Linked DNA regions of Homo sapiens: region 1 is linked to region 2. Evidence: promoter capture Hi-C in 16 types of primary human blood cells and fetal thymus (Javierre and others, 2016). All regions are on one chromosome and are shown on one strand. Each heading gives the region's core, a stretch centred on a gene start or on the middle of the fragment in contact. The rest is flanking DNA. Distances are from core to core; before and after follow the strand shown.

Evidence for each region. Contacts are between HindIII fragments. The CHiCAGO score rates a contact against its expected background, and 5 or more counts as called.
Region 1: a contact is called between a fragment that was not itself captured here and the fragment with the promoter of OVCA2 in region 2, in 8 of 17 cell types (endothelial precursors, monocytes, activated CD4 T cells and 5 more). The highest score is 7.7, in endothelial precursors.

The regions. Positions count from the first base shown.
Region 1 is chr17:2,149,988-2,155,308 of GRCh38, forward strand. All of the region lies in intron 13 of SMG6 (SMG6 nonsense mediated mRNA decay factor), which reads right to left. Among named protein-coding and RNA genes, the nearest start is that of SMG6-AS1, 63 kb to the left of the region's middle. The HindIII fragment of the contact is 886 bases long and covers 2,219-3,104 here.
Region 2 is chr17:2,040,772-2,045,488 of GRCh38, forward strand. It overlaps OVCA2 (OVCA2 serine hydrolase domain containing), which reads left to right and starts at 1,251. Exons shown (of 2, transcript NM_080822.3): 1 at 1,251-1,460; 2 at 1,834-2,654. The coding sequence starts at 1,277. The coding sequence ends at 2,333. It overlaps DPH1 (diphthamide biosynthesis 1), which reads left to right. Exons shown (of 13, transcript NM_001383.6): 10 at 332-410; 11 at 710-850; 12 at 997-1,104; 13 at 1,834-3,127. The coding sequence ends at 1,086. RefSeq lists silencers at 754-843, 1,354-1,553 and an enhancer at 1,104-1,163. The HindIII fragment of the contact is 21,411 bases long and covers 1-4,717 here.

The DNA.
Region 1 (5,321 bases), core at 1,412-3,911, 110 kb after region 2:
AGTGCCTTCTTCCCCCAACTGCATCCAGTCTAGAGCAGGGGTCCCAGCCCCCGGGGTTGTGGACCGTGGTACCAGTCCATGGCTTGTTAGGAACTGGGCCGCACAGCAGGAAGAGAGCGGTCAAAGCAAGCAAGACCGCCTGAGCTCCGCCTCCTGTCAAGTCAGCAGCAGCATTAGATTCTCACAGGAGTGGAGCGCGAACCCTATTGTGAACCACACGTGCAAGGAATCTAGCCTGCGTGCTCCTTCTGAGAACCTAACTAATGCTGGATGATGGCAAGTGGAACAGTTTCATCCTGAAACCACCCACTGCTAACCCTGTCTGTGGAAAAACTGTCTCCCACAAAACCAGTTCCTGGTGCCAAAAAGGTTGGGGACCACCGGTCTAGAGTATCAAGGGCCCAATACCAATGTGTTGAACAGATGCTGTTGGCACTGTCTACTGTGTTCATCAACATCCCCAAAGGACACAGCTATGCCCCATGTCATCAGGGGTAGCTCGCCTCTAGGTGGTTATGTCTTCCTGGCCCTCGATGCTATGGAAGTGATCCCCAAAGGACACAGCTATGCCCCATGTCATCAGGGGTAGCTCACCTCTAGGTGGTTATGTCTCCTGGCCCTCGATGCTATGGAAGTGACCAGGTTCAACTCTGATGGCCATCTTGAGATGTTCTTCCTATTACACTTTATATTGCTGTTCCCAGAAGTCAGGCAAAGGCAAATCACAAAAGATCTCTGCCTATACAAAGTATGACTCTAAGGTAATAAGATATGTTTTTAAAAATCACAAATGAGTATTGGTCTAATTAGGATACTTGACAGTGACATCTTACACCGAGGCTGTGAAATACCCTTTCCCCCAACTCTCAAACCCAGATCTCACTTGAGTGTGAAGGATTAAAAAAAAAAAAAATCCGTAACCCAGCTGTGACACTTCCTTCCACCTCTACCTGTACATCTGTTTCCTATGGCGTGCTGCCGCCTCAAGTAAGATGGGTGAGGCTTCTGTAGATGCTGGGGAACAAGATGGAACAAAAATGCTTCACACCTGGCTCCCAAATTACAGGAACGCTGGACCGAGGCCAACATAAGCTGGCACAGCACCAGCTGAAATGGACATCAATTAAGGAGCTTGTCATCTTTCAAGACTACAGGGTCTTTTTTCACTCCACAGTCTGCACTGCTCCACAAACCAGCCATAGCACCACTAGCAGGGTTTTCCAGATGGGATCATTTCCCTTAGATTCCACATTTGCAGATTTATTGCAGAACTTTTTAACCCATCCCTCCATTTTTAAAGCCTGAAATATTATTCCACATTACAGTTTTATATTCAATTGATTTGTCTATAGCAAAATCTGTACTTTCATGAGCAGAAAAAGAAAGTTTTAAGCCTGCCTACAAGTTGCTGTTTGCTTACAAAAAGACATGCAAATAACTGAGATTCACGAAGGCTCAGAAATTCTTCTCTGAACACATTGCTCCAACTGGGATCAGAAGTCAGAGAGCCTTCACCAGGCTCCACTGTCCTGGAGAAATGGTCAGATCTCCAGCACTAAGGCAGGCCTCCTCTGACCATCACATGCAGTGTTAGTGATCCATGTCACATGCACAAAGAAAAAGAAACTCTACTAATGTCTAGTCAGTGGCAAATGCTGCTTAAGAAAAACATCTTAACACGGATCAGCAATTAAAAAGTGACAAGATTCCACATAGTATCTTCTCTTGACTTTTATCCAATGGGGCAGGACATTTTCCCTACACCTATGCGGCTGCCCAGTGGAAAGAATTCCACACAACATGAAAGAGACCCATGGTGAGTATGTTCTGAGAACTGAATTCCATTGCCTCGGGGGCCTGTCTGCTGCTGCCAATTTGCTTCTCATGGCAGAACCCTGTGTGTCAGAACCCTGACTAGGCTCTGCCGATGGTTGTTTGGAAAAGAGTCCAGCTGGAGATGAAAGGAGTTCTTCAAAGCAATGACTCCTTGGAGGCTATCACTTTAGAATTGGGAATGATTACTTATCAAAAAACGACTTCACTCTGGAATATACTACGGGCAAGAAGCTGGCCTGACCTCTCGGGTATTCTGTTGGAGTCGGCCTGAGCCGGAGAGGCCTTGATGAATTTGGAGTGATGGCAGGAAGTGAGGAACCCAGTTGAAGGTAAGAGCCCAGAAGCTACATCATAGGCGGGGACAGGAGAAAGAACTGAAAAAAGCTTCAGAAATCTGTCTGGACAATTCAGTTTGGCCCACCCCTTATCCCCCTCTTTCATTTTAAATAAACAGCTTCAAAAGGGGTGGTCCTCACAACTTTCTGCTGACTAAGGTCTCAATTTCCTTATGGTCCTCTACTAAGAGAGCCTGTGAACCCTTCAGCTCTCAGCATTTAATCAGTCAAAACTTAGTCTCTAAAGTGAAAAGACAAGCCACAGACTGAGAGAAAATATCTGCAATGCATTTGTACCTGACAAAGGATTTGCATCCTAAATATATAAAGACCTCTCAAGACTCAGTAAGAAAATAATCCGATTTAACAATAGGCAAAAGATGTGAATAGACACTTCACCAAAGAAGATACACAGATGACAAATGAACATATGAAAAGATGCTCAACATCATTAGCCATTAGAGAAATGCGAATTAAAATCACAAGGTACCTAGTATAATTATTAAAAAACAAACAAACTGACAGGATCAAGTGCTGATAATGATGCCAGAACAGGAACTGCTCGTGCAATACGGTGCAGCCACTTTGTAAAACAGTTTGCTGGTCTCTAGCGAAGTTAAACATACTCTTATCACATAAACCACCCGTTCCACTCCTAAGTATTTATCCAAGAGAAATGAAAACCTAAGTTCATTTAAGAAACGTAAAGACTGATGCACAAATGTTTACAGCAGTTCTATCCATGACCACCAAAAACTGCAAATAGCCCAAATGTTCAACTGGTGAATGGATAAACAAATCATAGTGTATGTATACAATGGAATACTACTCTGCAACAAAAAAGAACATATGATTGATATAGGCAACAGCATGCATGAATCTCAAATGTATTACGCTATGCGAAAAGAAGCCAGACTCAAGAGCTCTATATCAAGCTTATCCAACCCGTGGCCCACGCAGCCCAACGCAAATTTATAAACTTTCTTAAAATACTATGAGATGTTTTTTGAGACTTTTTTTTAAAGCTTATTAGCTATCGTTAGTGTTAGTGTAGTCTATGTGTGGCCCAAGACAATTCTTCCAATGTGGCCCAGGGAAGCCAAAAGATTGGCACCCCTGCTCTATGTACTGTATGATTTTATTTATACGTCATTCTGGAAAAAGCTAAGTTACAGAGACAGAAAACATCAGAAGTTGTCAGGGACTGGGGTTGGGAAGGGAGCTGGTTGCATGAGGGAATTTTTGGGGGTGTTGAAAATGGTCTATATCTTAATTGTAGTGATGGTTACATGAAAGTATGTGTTTCTCAAAACTGTACAACAGAGTGAATTTTAACTTATGCAAACCCGCCCATCTTGGTTGCTAAGAGTCTCTATGGCACAGGGGTAAACTGGTGGAACGCCACTCCACGCGGTGACTGGGGGAACCTGGGGATGCATGTAGAGTGTGACGGTGACTGGGGAACCTGGGGATGCATGTAGAGTGTGACGGTGACTGGGGGAACCTGGGGATGCATGTAGAGTGTGACGGTGACTGGGGAACCTGGGGATGCATGTAGAGTGTGACGGTGACGGGGGAACCTGGGGATGCATCTAGAGTGTGACGGTGACTGGGAAACCTGGGGATGCACGTAGAGTGTGATGGTGACTGGGGGAACCTGGGGATGCATGTAGAGTGTGACGGTGACTGGGAAACCTGGGGATGCACGTAGAGTGTGCGGTGACGGGGGAACCTGGGGAGGCACGTAGAGTGTGACGGTGACGGGGGAACCTGGGGATGCACGTAGAGTGTGACGGTGACTGGGGAACCTGGGGATGCATGTAGAGTGTGACGGTGACTGGGGAAACCTGGGGATGCATGTAGAGTGTGACGGTGACTGGGGAACCTGGGGATGCATATAGAGTGTGACGGTGACTGGGGGAACCTGGGGATGCATGTAGAGTGTGACGGTGACTGGGGAACCTGGGGATGCATGTAGAGTGTGACGGTGACTGGGAAACCTGAGGATGCACGTAGAGTGTGACGGTGACGGGGGAACCTGGGGATGCACGCAGAGTGTGACGGTGACTGGGAAACCTGGGGATGCATCTAGAGTGTGACGGTGACTGGGAAACCTGGGGATGCATCTAGAGTGTGACGGTGACTGGGAAACCTGGGGATGCATGTAGAGTGTGACGGTGACGGGGGGGAATCTGGGGATGCATCTAGAGTGTGACGGGGCTGAGGGAGGGCCCACTTTCACCTTGAAATTACAGACAACACTATAAAACAGACAAAGATTTATGTTGGAAAAAAAGAATTTTATGCCCTTTGTCCTTCAACTTTTTCCTTGTTGTAGAGACAATACAACCTTCTTTAGAGATTACAAAGGTATGAAATCTCAGCCTGGTATTCCTCCTCCCTTTACATGTCCTGTTTCACTTAGGCAGAGGTCTCTGTTTCTCCAAAAGAGCAAAGTGTATATTCAAGCTGAAATCAGAGGCCTAGACTAACTAGAGGCCTGCTGGCTGGAAGGGATTAATGTGCACAGAACTTAATAAAAATGAATACTGAAACTATTGTTAATAATAAACACCTGCTAACCTCTAATTAAAAAGTATAAGGACAGCATGGTGGCTGTAATCACAGCACTTTGGGAGGCCAAGGTGGGTGAACTGCTTGAGCTCAGGACTTCAAGACCAGCCTGGGCAACATGGTGAAATCTCATCTCTACAAAAAAATACAAAAATTAGCGGGGTGTGGTAGCATGTACCTGTGGTCCCAGCTACTCAGAAGCTGAGGTGGGAGGATCCCTTGAGCTCAGAAGGTTGAGGCCACAGTGAGCCACTGCATTCCAGCACTGGCAACAAAACAAGATGTTGTCTCAAAAAAAACAAAGTATACTCTGAGAAAAAAAATTTTTTTTTTTTTTTGAGATGGAGTCTCACTCCATCACCCAGGCTGGAGTGCAGTGGTGGGATCTCAGCTCACTGCAACCTCCACCTTGCTGGTTCAAGTGATTCTCCTGCCTTAGCACCCCTAGCAGCTGGGATTACTGGGATTACAGGTGTGCGCCACCATGCCCGGCTACTTTTTGTATTTTTAGTAGAGACAGGGTTTCACCATGTTGGTCAGGCTGGTCTCAAGCTCCTGACCTCAGGTGATCTGCCC
Region 2 (4,717 bases), core at 1-2,500:
TTTGGGGCTCAGAGGCAATGGCAACATCACATTTGTCCTTGTGAGATGAGTTTGAGCGGTGGCTGACACCTGCCCTGTACCAGGTACTAAATGTGGTTCTGGGGATACTATCACCAGTGAGCTGCCCTGGAAAGCTCATTGTCGGCAGAGGAAACAGGAGAAAACACGCAACAATACAGTATTCCAAACAGCAGTGGGTCACTGTCTTTACTTTAGGATTCATAAAGCCTGTTAATGAATGGGTGTGCTGGGGGCACTGTCATGTTCTTCAGCATGCTGCCTGGGCGACGAGGAGGCCCTTCCTAGGGTCTGACCTGGCTTCCCTTCCCAGGTGGGTGCAGGTGGCATGTCCACGTCTCTCCATTGACTGGGGCACAGCCTTCCCCAAGCCGCTGCTGACACCCTATGAGGTAACACCAAGCTCTGGGAGAGAGTGGGCTTTGGACGTGGTTCTCAAAGGTGAGGTCTGGAGTGGAGTGGGGTGGGTGGGCAGCACTTCGTTATGTTCGTAGATTCCGGAGTCTGTCTCGATTTCTCCAGCGGAGTCACTTCCTAGCTGTGTAGCCTTAGGCAAGGCCCTGAACCACACAGTTCCCTTCTGTGGCAGGGGACAGTGTGCCCTTCACAGGCCGTCGTGAGGACTGAATTCAGTAATCCAGGGGCAGAAAAACACTGGCAGATGTTATTGTCCCTCCCTCCCCTCCCCTAGGCGGCCGTGGCTCTGAGGGACATTTCCTGGCAGCAGCCCTACCCGATGGACTTCTACGCTGGCAGCTCCTTGGGGCCCTGGACGGTGAACCACGGCCAGGACCGCCGTCCCCACGCCCCGGGCCGGCCCGCGCGGGGGAAGGTAGGCGGGGGCTTCCAGGAGGGAGGAGAGACCGCGCCTGGGCACTGGCCGCCGCCCTGCGACCGCGACGGGAAACGCACAGGAGCGGAGCGGAGGGAAACGCAGGGTCGCAGGAGCGAGACCCTAACCAAAGTCTGCGACCTCAGGTGCAGGAGGGGTCCGCGCGTCCCCCTTCGGCCGTGGCTTGCGAGGACTGCAGCTGCAGGGACGAGAAGGTGGCGCCGCTGGCTCCTTGACGCGCTCCCGGGCCTCAGGTATCAGCCCCCGCTCTGGGTGCGCCCCGCCTTTTGCCGTTGTCATGGGAACGCCTTGGCGCTCCGAGGCCCGCCCTCGGGGCGGTGCTGACGTTCGGTTCCGCCCCGTGCATTGTGCTTCCGCTCGGGGAAAGACCGCTTCCGGTGCTTCCGTCGCTCCTTGCCGGGCATAATGGCCGCGCAGCGACCCCTGCGGGTCCTGTGCCTGGCGGGCTTCCGGCAGAGCGAGCGGGGCTTCCGTGAGAAGACCGGGGCGCTGAGGAAGGCGCTGCGGGGTCGCGCCGAGCTCGTGTGCCTCAGCGGCCCGCACCCGGTCCCCGACCCCCCGGGCCCCGAGGGCGCCAGATCAGACTTCGGTGAGACAAGCCCCGCTCCGGAAACGCACTCAGTTTCCTCCATCTTGTTTCGTCCCCCTCGACACCCTTCAGCATCCCCCACCCTGCGTCCACCCGCATTCCTCCCACCCAGTCCACACCCTTCATTTCTCGCGACCCATACCCTCTTTGCTCAAACTGCAGCCTGTCCTCCCAGGCTTCCGCCTTCACCGTCTTCCTCCGCTGTCTCCTGTTCAGGCCAATCCACTCATTTCCCCCCTCTCATTTCCCCCAGACTTTTGCCTCGATTCCCTTTTTCTCTCTGTCATCTCGAACCCTCCTGCCCTTTCTCATTTCTTTCCTTCCTGGAGCCTCCCATGCCCTAATCCCATCCTTTTTCCTCATATCGCTGTAGGGTCCTGCCCTCCGGAGGAGCAGCCTCGAGGCTGGTGGTTTTCAGAGCAGGAGGCCGACGTTTTCTCCGCATTGGAAGAGCCCGCCGTCTGCAGGGGCCTGGAGGAATCACTGGGGATGGTGGCACAGGCACTGAACAGGCTGGGGCCTTTTGACGGCCTTCTTGGTTTCAGCCAAGGGGCTGCGCTAGCAGCCCTTGTGTGTGCCCTGGGCCAGGCAGGCGATCCCCGCTTCCCCTTGCCACGGTTTATCCTCTTGGTGTCTGGTTTCTGTCCCCGGGGCATTGGGTTCAAGGAATCCATCCTGCAAAGGCCCTTGTCATTGCCTTCGCTCCATGTTTTTGGGGACACTGACAAAGTCATCCCCTCTCAGGAGAGTGTGCAACTGGCCAGCCAATTTCCCGGAGCCATCACCCTCACCCACTCTGGTGGCCACTTCATTCCAGCAGCTGCACCCCAGCGTCAGGCCTACCTCAAGTTCTTGGACCAGTTTGCAGAGTGAAAGATCAAGAAATGTCTCTGCTCCTACATCCAGCTCCTCTAGGGGCAGCCTCCGTCATCCATGCCCTCCCAGGACCCTCCACTCACTGCTGTGAGTGCGCCTCACCAGAACCAGTTAAGAGACAACTATCAATTCTTGAGACCCAAATTATAAGGGCCCTGCCCTGTACTGAAGAAAAGGGGAGCACAAGGCCTTAATGGACATTGACTTGTGAAAACGCAAACATGAATATGGTTGGAGAGCCCTGGATTAGGAGGGTGACATGGGGAAGGCAGAGGCTGGCACCATGGTGACTGCCACATAATAAAGTGGTGATTTGGATTTTGAGCATCTTTTTCCTGGTACACACAGAAAAACATTTTATAATGGAAGTCGGTTTCTTGGCCATCTACATAGTTTTCTGGGCAGCGCCAAGCAGGGAGGTGTCTCCAGTTGTGAGTCCTCGGACAGGCTGCTGCATGGGTGCACATACTCACGTTATTGGTGGAAGTTTTAAGTCCCAAACTGAAGGGAAGGAGGCCTAGGTGGCACAATCAGGGAGGAATATACATCTGAGAAGTTTTGGGAAGACATCACCTGGCAAGGCTGCCTGAACCACAGTAATTTAGTCTTCCTCTATCCAGATCACTGAGAGTTGTGTGCTGGTCTTCTCTCAAACCCTGGATGTGTTACCTGCTTCTCCCTAAGTGCTCTAACCTCGCTGAACTATGAGCCTGAAGGGTGGGTCGATGCCAGACCTTAGGTGGAGGCCAAAGACAGTACAGAATAAACAGCTTCTTCCTAAATTGACCCCATCTTGAGGGTTTCTGAGATTGATGCCATTCTTTAGTGACTACAGCCAAGGCCTAAGCAATCCAGCTGGTTTTCCCCTTGGGGCGTGTAGTTGTTCTTGGATACTTTGAGGATTGCTCACTCTTTTTTTTTTTTTTTTTGAGACAGGCTCACTCTGTCACCCAGGCTGGAGAGCAGTGGCCAAGATCCTGGCTCACTGCAACCTCAGCCTCCTGGGTTCAAGCAGTTCTGTCTCAGCCTCCTGAGTAGGTGGCGTTACAGGCATGCGCCACCACGCCTGGCTAATTTCTATATTTTTTTGTAGAGATAGGGTTTTGCCACGTTGCCCAGGCTGGTCTCAAAACTCTTTAGCTCAAACAATCCACCTGCCTCAGCCTCCCAAAGTGCTAGGATTATAGGCCTGAGCCACTGCACCTACCTAGGATTGCCCACTCTTTTTTTGTTTTCTTTACTTTTAAAGACAAGGTCTGACTCTATCACCCAGGCTGGAGTGCAGTGGCACAATCTTGACAGCCTCCACCTCCCGGGCTCAAGCCATCCATCCTCCCACCTCAGCCTCCCAAGCAGCTGGGGCTGCAGGCGCAAATCACCATGCCTGGCTAATTTTTGTATTTGTTGTAGAGAAGGGGTCTCACCATGTTGTGCGGATGGTCTCCAACTTGCGAGCTCAAGCAATCCACCTGTCCTGGCCTCCCAAAGTGCTGGAATTAACAGGCGTGAGCCACCTCACCTGGCCAATTGCCCACTCTTAATGAGTTCCCTCCCATTTCCAGTGCCACCTGACACCCCCCACCCCCTGACACACACACACACACTCTTGTTTTCTGACTTCCTGCCTCTGCAAGACAAGAAGCCTGTTCTTTTTCTGGAAGATCACACCAACTCCTGTTTAGCCCTCAGACATAGTTGCCAGGGAGCTAAGCAACTGAGCAGGAATTATGGTCAGGGACACAGCACAAATACTCCAGCCCATTTTTCTGACAACCAGACTAATATCCCTTACATTACCGAAAGTTCTGGGTTCCTCACTACAGAGATTAGCTGTCCAAAATTAAAAAAAACAAAACAAAACAGAATTATCCGCCCAGAGACCTAGTTACTGGGTGTGGAAAGTGTGTGTGGGGAGGGGTGGGAGGTGGTTCTCCCTTGCTTCAGTTGGCTTCTGCCTTGTTTTAAGGAATCTTCTCCTTTAGCAAAAGGAGGAGACTTTGGAATGGATTGATTACACAGACTGTGGTATCTGACCCATTGAATTTTAGAAAAAATTCTGATTTAAAGTTTCAGAAATTGCACAGAAAATTTCAGATTTCTGGCTTCTCTGGAAATGATAGATTTGCAGTTCAGGGCTCCCATACCCTCATGGTAATCATAGGCTGCCCCCTTTAGCACGGTCCCAAGAGGTGAAAACGACTTGTACACCCCAGCTGCTTGGGATTATTGAGGACGAAAGTAGAGAGAAGGGGAGAAATATTGGGGAGTGAATTTTGAGCCAAGGCTTAAAATTAAAAGTGGGGGAGGTAGAGCCCAGCAGTAGTAGGTGGAGGAGAAGGGCTCCTGGCCGGGGGTGAGGATTCCTCCTGAGAACCATAGTG